Linked DNA regions of Homo sapiens: region 1 is linked to region 2. The links are contacts of gene promoters, found by promoter capture Hi-C in blood cells and fetal thymus (Javierre and others, 2016). All regions are on one chromosome and are shown on one strand. The core of a region is centred on a gene start or on the middle of the fragment in contact, and the rest is flanking DNA. Distances in the headings are between cores, read along the strand shown. Region 1 overlaps COG2 (component of oligomeric golgi complex 2). Region 2 holds the start of GNPAT (glyceronephosphate O-acyltransferase).

Evidence for each region. Contacts are between HindIII fragments. The CHiCAGO score rates a contact against its expected background, and 5 or more counts as called.
Region 1: a fragment that was not itself captured here is called in contact with the fragment with the promoter of GNPAT in region 2 in 1 of 17 cell types (total B cells); the score reaches 5.4 in total B cells.

Annotation. Positions count from the first base shown.
Region 1 is chr1:230,670,464-230,675,715 of GRCh38, reverse strand. It overlaps COG2 (component of oligomeric golgi complex 2), which reads right to left. Exons shown (of 18, transcript NM_007357.3): 8 at 4,076-4,200; 9 at 592-718. LOC107985358 (a long non-coding RNA gene) reads left to right here. Exons shown (of 2, transcript XR_001738517.1): 2 at 506-771. Among named protein-coding and RNA genes, the nearest start is that of COG2, 31 kb to the right of the region's middle. The HindIII fragment of the contact is 646 bases long and covers 1,876-2,521 here.
Region 2 is chr1:231,239,187-231,243,833 of GRCh38, reverse strand. It overlaps GNPAT (glyceronephosphate O-acyltransferase), which reads right to left and starts at 2,622. Exons shown (of 16, transcript NM_014236.4): 1 at 2,378-2,622. The coding sequence starts at 2,455. It overlaps FSAF1 (40S small subunit processome assembly factor 1), which reads left to right and starts at 2,659. Exons shown (of 7, transcript NM_152379.4): 1 at 2,659-2,810; 2 at 4,646-4,647. The coding sequence starts at 2,693. RefSeq lists enhancers at 1,720-2,609, 2,590-2,929. The HindIII fragment of the contact is 8,993 bases long and covers 1-4,647 here.

The DNA.
Region 1 (5,252 bases), core at 949-3,448, 570 kb after region 2:
AGCTATAATTGTGCCACTGCACTCCACCCTGGGCAACACAGTAAGACCCTGTTTCAAAAATAGTAATAGTAATAATAAAATAAAATATAAATTAAAAAAACAAATAAATATTGGGGCTTTCTAACTTTTTAAATCATAAAGGACATTTATGTAGTATATTTTAAAATCCAACCAATTCCTTTGTACTTGCTGCTGGAAAACATTCAGTGAATACTTTCTGTTTTCATTCAAAATTATATGGCAGAGATGTACAAACTTAATTTTTCACAGAAAACTGCAAAAACACTGGCTTTTAATGGTCCTCAGGATGTTTTTAAGAAAGTTAGAAAATAATGTACATTTCTACTCACACTTGTATCTAGCCTTAATTATACTTTATATTATAAAATGAAAATGTTCTTATTCCTAAAAGTATCATACATCATATCTTGGATAAAACGATGTGTGTGTTTTAAGGTTAAATGTTCACTTAGCAACTCAAATTTTTATTTTTAATAAACCACAGAACCAAGACTAAGTAGAAGAGAACATGATATTTCTCCAGTCTCCGGTTAACATCTTCAAGAATCAAGACGACGGGCGGGGAGATACCTCATGAAATGCATCGGGATTCCCAGGATTAAAAAGCGAGGGTAACTTTTCTTCTAATCCTTGTACTATTTGTGGCCAAACAGAATTCACCAAAAAGTCATATCCAGGAACAGTATTGCCTTTTTCACTGTAAAATAAGGGCACATATCAGTAAAATATACCATAATCTACTTACAAAGAGCAAATTTCCACTGTGTTGCTTCTGCCAAAAGATCCGCAGTCTAAAACTTATTTCAACTTTTTAAAAAAACCGTATTTGTAATTTAGTTTGTTTCCAGACTCAAGTTTCTATTTCACTCCTTAATTTCAGTCTCACCTCAAACCTGGCAAATCTCCTAGATCCTGACTCCTCCAGCTGGTGTCAAGGCTAAGGGAAGCCACATAAAATCACCTTGGTACACTTTTCCCTCTAAAATACTTCCCAACCCCTTTATACTCCTATCTTGGAAACAAAAAGTACAGTAGTCTAATACCACAGGAAAAATAACCTTCACATTACTGAACACCACTAAACCACACAGCATTGTAAGTTATGCTAATTTATAAATTACTAACAGCTTTGTATTTACTAAGCTATCTCTAAGATTACTTTCAGTTCTAAAATTCTATGACTATCAAATGTGAAATCTTATCACAAATCTTGACACAAAAACCTGTTAACAGATTAATGTTTTATTTTGTGTGTGTGCCTGTCTTGTTTTGTCTTTTTTTAGCACCAGACTTTTAAATTCCAAATTCCCAAATGTAGATGACAGGCAGCACTGACAGAAAGCATGCGCTTTGGAGCTGGTGTGCCTGATTCAGATATTGGAGGGCGGGCAAATCATTTAACTTCTCTGTGCTTGGTTTCTTCATCTTTAAAATGGTGATGATCATAGTACCAACTTCACAAAGTCATTATAAGAATTAATATTTGTAAAGTACTTAGGATAGTGCCTAACATATAGTAAAAGCCCTATGTTAGTAACGGTTAAATAACGGAGATTCCTTAAGTCGCTCACAAACTCAAAGATCCATAAACATCCATTCTAGGCAAACACCATTTCACTAATCTGCCCACTTTGTTTCATATTGGGTATTCTGCTCTATTTCAAGGTAATTTTTTAAAATGGCAAACAATTTAATAAATGTTCTATTTTAGCAAAACTGGGAGTTTTGTAGCTAAGTTGCCATGTCAAAACGGGACTTAACATTCTGGTAAGTATTAAAATAAATTTTTTTAAAGTTTTCATAATTTTCCTGCTTAACAAAAATTATCAAGACAGATAAGTTATCAAGGAAGCTTTGCTTCACTGTCCAGGAAGAGCTAGCAAATAATGTTATTATAGTTTCACCTAAGTATTGTTAGGAAATTACTGGTGGGGGTGGAGGAGGGCCAGGAAGGGGAAAGAAGATGACTGCCTCCCATATATCCAATTCCACACATCATATTATACACTTCCAAATAATAGGAAGAGCAGGCTCTGTTAAGGTATCTAGAGAAAGAAAGCACAAAATTGAGGACTCCAAACTACAGATATACATAATGTAATCACTATTAAATGACAACATTTCCTCATTCCCAAAGTTAATGTCTAATCAAATCCCCAAAGAGAGAATGTAAAACCTGCAAGATTAACAGTTGATGGATTAGAAAAGCTCATCTGTATTCTCTGGAGGAGAAATCACGAATGTTGTTGGTGTTGCCAGTTATAAAGCTCATGAAGGGTGGCACATGATAAAAGAAAGGAGTGACAAGGGGAGCACCAAGCTGGAAATCTGAAGCCAGGAGCCGAGCAAGGGAAGGAAAGGGATATGCAGAACCTGCAACACAGTGACAGGCTAGCGGCAGATGATGATCTCGCAAGGTACAGTTCAGATTCCTCAAATCTCTAAGCCTTCTACATGAATTCCCCCACACTAAAAACTGTGGAAAAGATCCACTAAAGCTTTGAAGCTTGACATCTCTGGACCCAGACTGGCCCTGTCAAATCTAATGGCTGATTGTTTCATATCTATGGCTTCATTTTACATCATGATTTCTACTATGTTCTTATCCCCAAATCCAACTAAATCCTTATGATTACTAAACAAAAGTAGCAAAACTAGACTTCATCTTAGGTGGTACAGAGGAAACAGAGAGGGTACTGCAAAGGCCAAGCAGCATATTAATTACCCCATATTTCTGCAAAGAACAAAAACTCAAGGCCAAATACATTGCTTGCTCCATGAAAACAGAGACCTTATTTGCCTTTCGATCATTAAACATAGTTAATTCTTTCATTTTGCAAGCACTAACTGGGCAGCTGCTAGCTCTAAGACACTGTGTCAAGAGGCAGGGGAAGGTGTGAGCAGCGGAGAGGTGATCATAATGCAACATGGAAATCAGTACTCAGCAGACCCAAGAGCAACACATCCTGCAATCCAGAGGACATGATGAATGCTGAACATTAGGAGAAAAAATGGCCTTTTTTTTTTTTTAAGATGGGGTTTTGTCATGTTGCCCAGGCTGGTCTTGAACTCCTGGCCTCAAGCGATTCACCTGCCTTGGCCTCCCAAAGTGCTGGGATCACAGGTGTGAGCCACTACGCCCGGTCAAGGATGGTCTCTTGAAGGAGGTGGTATCTGAGCTGGAGCTTCATGTGGAGAGGCAGTTTGACAGGAAAACAAAGGGCACAGGAAGGGGAGGGCAGGCAGAGGAAAAACGCAGAAGCACGTGAGTACAAGGGAGCTGGGGAAAGGCAGCTAGCACTGTGTGGCTGGAGCATCCAGGGCTATGGAGGGAAAGTTTCTACAGTGGAGAGCTACCAGGCAAGAACAAAAAGGGCCTCATGCCCTGCTTCGAGAAGCCTGGATCTTCCTCCATGCGCACTGAGAAGCCACTAAAGATTCATGAAGAAATCTATGAATCTCAGATTTCTGGGTAAATGTGACAGTCAGAAGCCTAGACTAGAGAGGGAGAGACTGGAAGCAGGGAGACAGGGTGGGAAGATTCTATTATTGTGGACAGCAGATGACAAGGCCTGGACTGGGACAATGGCAATGGTGAAAAGTAATGGGATATTTATGAAAGAGAATCAGGAAGTCATGGAAACTGAACAAAAGGAGGAAAAATTGAAGATGAGTTCACAATTAGTATAAAACCTGTTGAAATAAACTGAATTAATATTTATAGACAGATTATGACATATTAGAATCATGGAAGGAAAGCAATTCTGACTTCAAACTAAATTTAGGAAAAAGTGCAGAGAAGAAGAAAGGCTAGGCTTTGGATTCGGAAATGTGGTCTTCAGTCTCAGCTTCATCTCAGTTTCCACAACTTTGAAATGAGGCTAATGGAATCTGCCTCACAGTATCACCAGTAGAAACAATGAAATAACAAGATTCATAATGGATTCATACAAGACAGTTCATACAAGACAGTCATCGTCCATCGTGCACCTGCAATTAGCAGGTGCGGTCACTGAAAGGGAGGTGGGGGTCCACACAGGGTTGTTTAAATTACCTGGAGATGGCACCTCCTGTGACTTCTCGAAGAAGGCGGCAATGGTGAGGAACAAACTCCAGGAGTTTATTATACATGACCTGAAGGCCATTGGGATGAGATTCAACAAACTGCTCTATAATCACCTATTAAAAGAAAAATCATTTTTTAAAAAAGCATTTAAAAGGGAAGTACAAACGATCTATTTCAGAGAAAACAATAAAGAAAACTTTACAAATCTGCTTCCTCACACTCACCCTCCTCCCTGTGACACATTTTCTAAACAGTGAAGTAAATAACAGGTCACATTCAAAACTACTTCCTTGGATTAGGCTGTACAGATACAACTGTGGGGGAGACATGGGCTGACAAACCATGCACTCTCATCTGCTTCCCTGGGAGTCTGAAAATAAAATAACAACTTTTAAAAAAAGATTTAAAGCAGAGCACATGATTCGCCACCACAACTCCTCACTGTCTTCATCCTGGCCTTTTTTTCTACCATCATTCAGATTAGGGAAGGGTTTGAGGCAGAGAAAGACAGAAGAAAATATATTAGTTCATTATTTTATTTTTTGTGATAAAATTGGGAGACAAGAATGATATGACAAGATAAGCTGAGTTTAAATAAAACACAATGTGGCTACTGAATTTAATATGCCACTGAAAGTTCAAATAGTTCTTTAATTTAGCACACTAGATTCAGTTCCGTGAAAAAGGAATAGATTAGTGACTAAAATATTTTCATCGGTTGGGCGCAGTGGATCACGCCTGTAATCCCAGCACTTTGGGAGACCAAGGCAGGCAGATCACTTGCGCTCAGGAGTTCAAGATTAGTTTGGACAACATGGCAAAACCTCATCTCTACAAAAAAAACATTAGCCAGGCATGGTGGTGTGTACCTGTAGTTCCAGCTAATTGGGAGGCTGAGGTAGGAGGACTGCTTGAGCCCAGGAGGTTGAGGCTACAGTGAGCCATGATCATGCCTCTGCACCCCAGCCTGCGTGACAGAGTGAGACCCTGTCCCCCAAAGCACAAAAAAATTTTTTCACTTATTGACAAAGAAATAATGTATGTAATTTTTTCACCCCCATAGAGACAGCTATGGAATATAACATGATATAAACAGAGAGAACTGAAATATCATTTATTTTTAGTAATCTTAACAAGGCCAAAATAATTATTAAAATGAGTCCCT
Region 2 (4,647 bases), core at 1,373-3,872:
AAGATTTTATCCCTAAGGATATGTAAACACGACACATAAAATTTCTTTAGGAAATATCTGCCTACTTCCTTACTTTGTTTCTCATGTCTCCTTTCTTCCACCCAAATCTAACTAATTCTAACCCCAAATATGCAAGGGAGTAGTTTTTTTTACATCAACATCTAGGACAGTTTTCCTCTCCCTCATCTGCCATTCACAGCTCAAAAACTCAGCTCATGCCAGGCACAGTGGCTCATGCCTGTAATTCCAGCACTTTGGGAGGTGAGTAGATCACTTGAGGTCAGGAGTTCAAGACCGGCCTGGCCAACACGGTGAGACCTTGTCTTTACTAAAAATACAAACATTAGCAGGGCGGGGTGGCGTGTGCCTAAAATCCCAGCTACTCGGGAGGCTGAGGCAGGAGAATCGCTTGAGCCCCGGAGATGGAGGTTGCAGTGAACCAAGATCGAGCCACTGTTCTCCAGCCTGGCAACAGAGCAAGGCTGTCTCCAAAACAAAACAAAAACAAAAACAAAAACAAAAAAGGAAGATCAGCTTAGATATCACCTTTTCTTAGAAACCTTCTCCAAGTTCCCAAACTGGTCAGGTGCCCCTTCTTGTCTCTCCCACAACACGCTGTGCATGCTTCAATCATTGCCCTTACCATACTTAACTGTGATTGTTTGTTTACTTTTATGACTTTTTGTGCCCTTAAAGGCAGAGCCTGCATCTGTAACTTCTATATCTTGGAAACTGAGAATAATGAGTAGGATACTGTATATATTCCTAATGTTTGCTGCAATCAGCAGTATCTTCTACGCTTCTAAAGTGCTACTTTTAGATCAGAATATTACACAATAACAGCGTAGCTGGGGAAATAAAAACAGCCTGAAGTACTAAGAAAAAGTAAGGTTACCGTGGAAGTAAAGGTTATCCAGTCACAAAACAGTAGTGAGAACTACCAGTAAAGAGTGGGTTGCTGTCCAGCATCAGAACTACAGAATGCTCAGATACAACTGCCATAGTTTTTCACATGAAAAAGTGGACTCAAGTCTTATTAAAGAACCGTTGGTAAAGGGGAAGTAAAACAAACAAACAAACAAACAAAACCAACTCCTTCCTTTAATGTACAAAAGGAAAATTCCAACCAATTCACAAACCAGTTGGGAGCTTAAAAAGCTACATGTTAAAAGCTGGATCTGCACAGCAACCCTCTTCCCTTCGTGCCTGCTCTGGAGTAGCAGAGTCAGAAAACAAAGTTGATATCCACCACAGAACTGTGGGGAAGATAAGATCAATGAAGAGATATATCTAAATAATAAGGCTTATAGGCAGTTAGCAATCAGAAACCGAAAGGTCTTGATAGAGAGGGAACAGAAGTTTCTCCATGTTCCAAAGAATATTGGTGTCTCAATTTGAAGGAACCCATATATTCTCTTTCAAAACTGGGGTGTTTATCTTGCTCTGCTGTGTTATCCCTGTTTTGACCTTTCTGCACAAATGAACACTACATTTAAGCCAAAATTGGACAGTAATCACCAGGATATGCTAATATGCTTTTAAAATGAATTCTTTCATTTTCTCCTAAAGTAGCTAAAAACTAATTTAGTGGTTAAAAACAACAAGAAACAAACAAAAACCAAACCAGTTGCCCCAGGTCTGTGCAATCCTGAAGGCTATAAAGCTCCCATCTCATAATTTCTTCATGAAAATCGTGGGTGACCAACATCTGCCAGCCAAAAAGACCCGTTAAAACCAAGAGAGGAAGAGGGGGTTGGAGGAAAAAAAGACAAGCGGGAGAGAAGCTGGGTGGCGCTGGCTGTCCTCCAAAATGATTTGTGGAAAAGGTACAATAATGACTGGAAGACAAGAACAGGCAATAAAAATGTCTAGAAGTTCTAAATTTTCCTGAAGTGTTTAAAACTCTATTCCCACATACAAGCCAAGTGCTCTACTCCCAGGAATATAACAGCAGCATAGGGCGGGGTGCGGAGCCACAGGCTATCTCAGGGCGGGTCAAACCCGCAAGTTTCTCAGGTTTGCCCAAAAGGTAGCTCGACATGCCCTCGCTAGAGATGGGGAGACTCCAATTCTCATTCCTCATTCTCGTGTCCAGGAGCTTTCTGAAGGCCCCAGGGCCTGATAGAAAGAAAGAGAAGGAAAAAGTGGAAAGGAACCAAAGGAACCATAATCCGTAGAAACTTCCAAAAGCATGCACACACAGACACACAGCGATACACTGTTGTCCTGGAAACCAATCCAACCAACTAACCCCTCCTCGGGAGCCTAGGGGCCAGCTCTTTTGGGCAAGGGTGGTGGGCCGGAGGAATAGGGACTGGGAGAAAGGGGTACTATTTCGCGCGGCTCCGCTCTGGGCCTCTTTTCCCTGGGCGCCTACCGAGTAGAGGAGCACGACAGCGCTGGGACTGGTTGGGCCAACGGAGAAATAAGAGTTAGATGAACTGGAAGACTCCATGGTGCGGCTGCCTTCCCGGGCGGGGTCTGGGATTCTTTGCTAAGCCGTGGTGGTGCTCCTGCTGGGGGCGGTTCTTTCGCTCAGGACGGCCCTACTTCGCCTAGGGCGGCGGCACCCTCTGCAGCCGCTACACAGGATCCCGGGCGCCGCCATCTCAGCCAGGACGGAAGCCGCGCAGGGCCCTGCAGCGCATGCGCGCAGTCGCGGAACCCGGAAGCGGGGGTGCAGCGCGGCAGAATGAGGGTTGATTCCTCGGCTGACCCCACAATGTCGCAGGAGCAAGGGCCGGGGTCCTCCACGCCTCCCAGTTCTCCGACACTTCTTGACGCTCTGCTCCAGAACCTTTACGACTTTGGTGAGTGCGGGGTCCCAGGAGCCCACGTGGAGAACAGATTTGAGGAACGTGGGTCTCCTGTGTTGCCCGTCCTGGGTTGGCCTCTGCTTTGAGGCTAAAGGTTCTTGCATGTCAAGCACCCTTCGTCCCACCTGGTTCCAGTAGCGAACACATTTCTCCATCGGAAGTCACCCCTCGACCGGGCTCTGCTGAGTTATTCATCAAACCTTCCAACTCGTCCCCAAGTGTGGGGACCATCCTACTTGCTTGTAGGAAGCACCAAGGCTTTCCGATTTAAAAGTAGCCCGCTTTTCCACGTTTTCTTGAGCCCTGGGAAGTCCCCTTTCCCCATGCCACCCCCAAGACCTGCCTGACCCTGGTGCGATGGTGTCATTTCGCTCTGGGGCCTCGGGCCTGTTGGATAATACACCAGCTTCATCCTTGTGTGTCCCTCTCCAGAGACATCATAGTCCTTGGCGAGTTGTCCTTTTCACGACTTTTTTTTTTTTAAACAAGTGCGCTGATCTTTTACTCTCCGTTCTTTGTCTTGATGGGGGAAAAGGAAAATAAAAGAGCCTATTAAAGTCGCATGGCATGTCAGTAGGAAGACAGTGCCTCATACTCTGAAGAGCTTTCCCGGGAGAAGGTGACACCCTTTGCACATGCACCAAAGAAAATCATTAGATTTCAGGACAACACACATTTCTTAAATTTACAGCGTGATATTTTAAAAGCTATTTTTATTTTGGAATGACTGCTCAAAATTCTAAGTTCACCTAAACAGTAGGAATAATAGTTAAAACTGTTGAGAACTTGCCATATAGCACATGCTTTTCGTGTATTTGCTCATTTAATTTTCAACTTCATGAAATAGACACTGTCATAAATCCATGATTGCAGATGTAGAAACAAGTACTAGAAGTTCATGAAACCTGATGCAGGTTGTCTGACTGGTAATTTTTGCAGAGCCTGGGTTCTGATTCTAGCCCCAGACCCCATGCTTGTATTAACTAGCATTTCTGTGCCCTTGGACATATTGGAGGACAGAGAAGACTTAGTCTCTGACCTTGAGAAGTTTAAAATCTAGAGGAAAAGACTATTCTGCAAAATAATATAGTTCATGTCAACACAGGCTGGAAATCATGGTAGGAGCTCTGAAGGCATTGAATGTGTCTATTCATTTTTATATCCTTAATGCCAAAGTTTAGTTGGCTCTTAAATGTTTATTGTATAAAAGATTAAGCAAATAGTAGCAAGCATAAATCAGCAGCTGGTAATTTAGAGAGCTCTGTGGTATTTGTAATACATGTGAGTAAGGATGCCTAGGATTCTGGTTAGAACTTTCAGGTGACTGGTCAGAGCTTCAACAAGTGAAATATAGAAAGAGGAATTAATAGAAAACAAAGGCATTCAAATTGAGCCAGTTGTCTTAGGTTCATCTTAATTCCTAACTGTGAAAGAAAATAGGAAGACTATTCCATGTTCCTGTAACCCAGAAAGTGTTAAAAAGAAACAGTGGCTGCAGTGCCTGATATTTTTAGTATAAAGCCAATTGGGATTACCAGCCCTGGGGACTATTGCTGTGATGACACTTTGAGTAGGAACCAAAGTGGAGACTAAAGTGATTGTGCTAATAAGGGTCAAAGACATAGTTACCTAGGAAAAGATGACTACATTTTGGATTCTCTGCATTTTGCAAATACACTTATTTGAAAGAAAACAAATAGTTTATTTCTTTGTGTGTGCTTCTAGGTGCATATAGCCCTGGAATATGTACAAATACATTCGTAGGATTTGATACTGATGATAGCTAAGACTGAAAATATTTATTTTCCTTCTTGTGTTTGAACAAACAGGA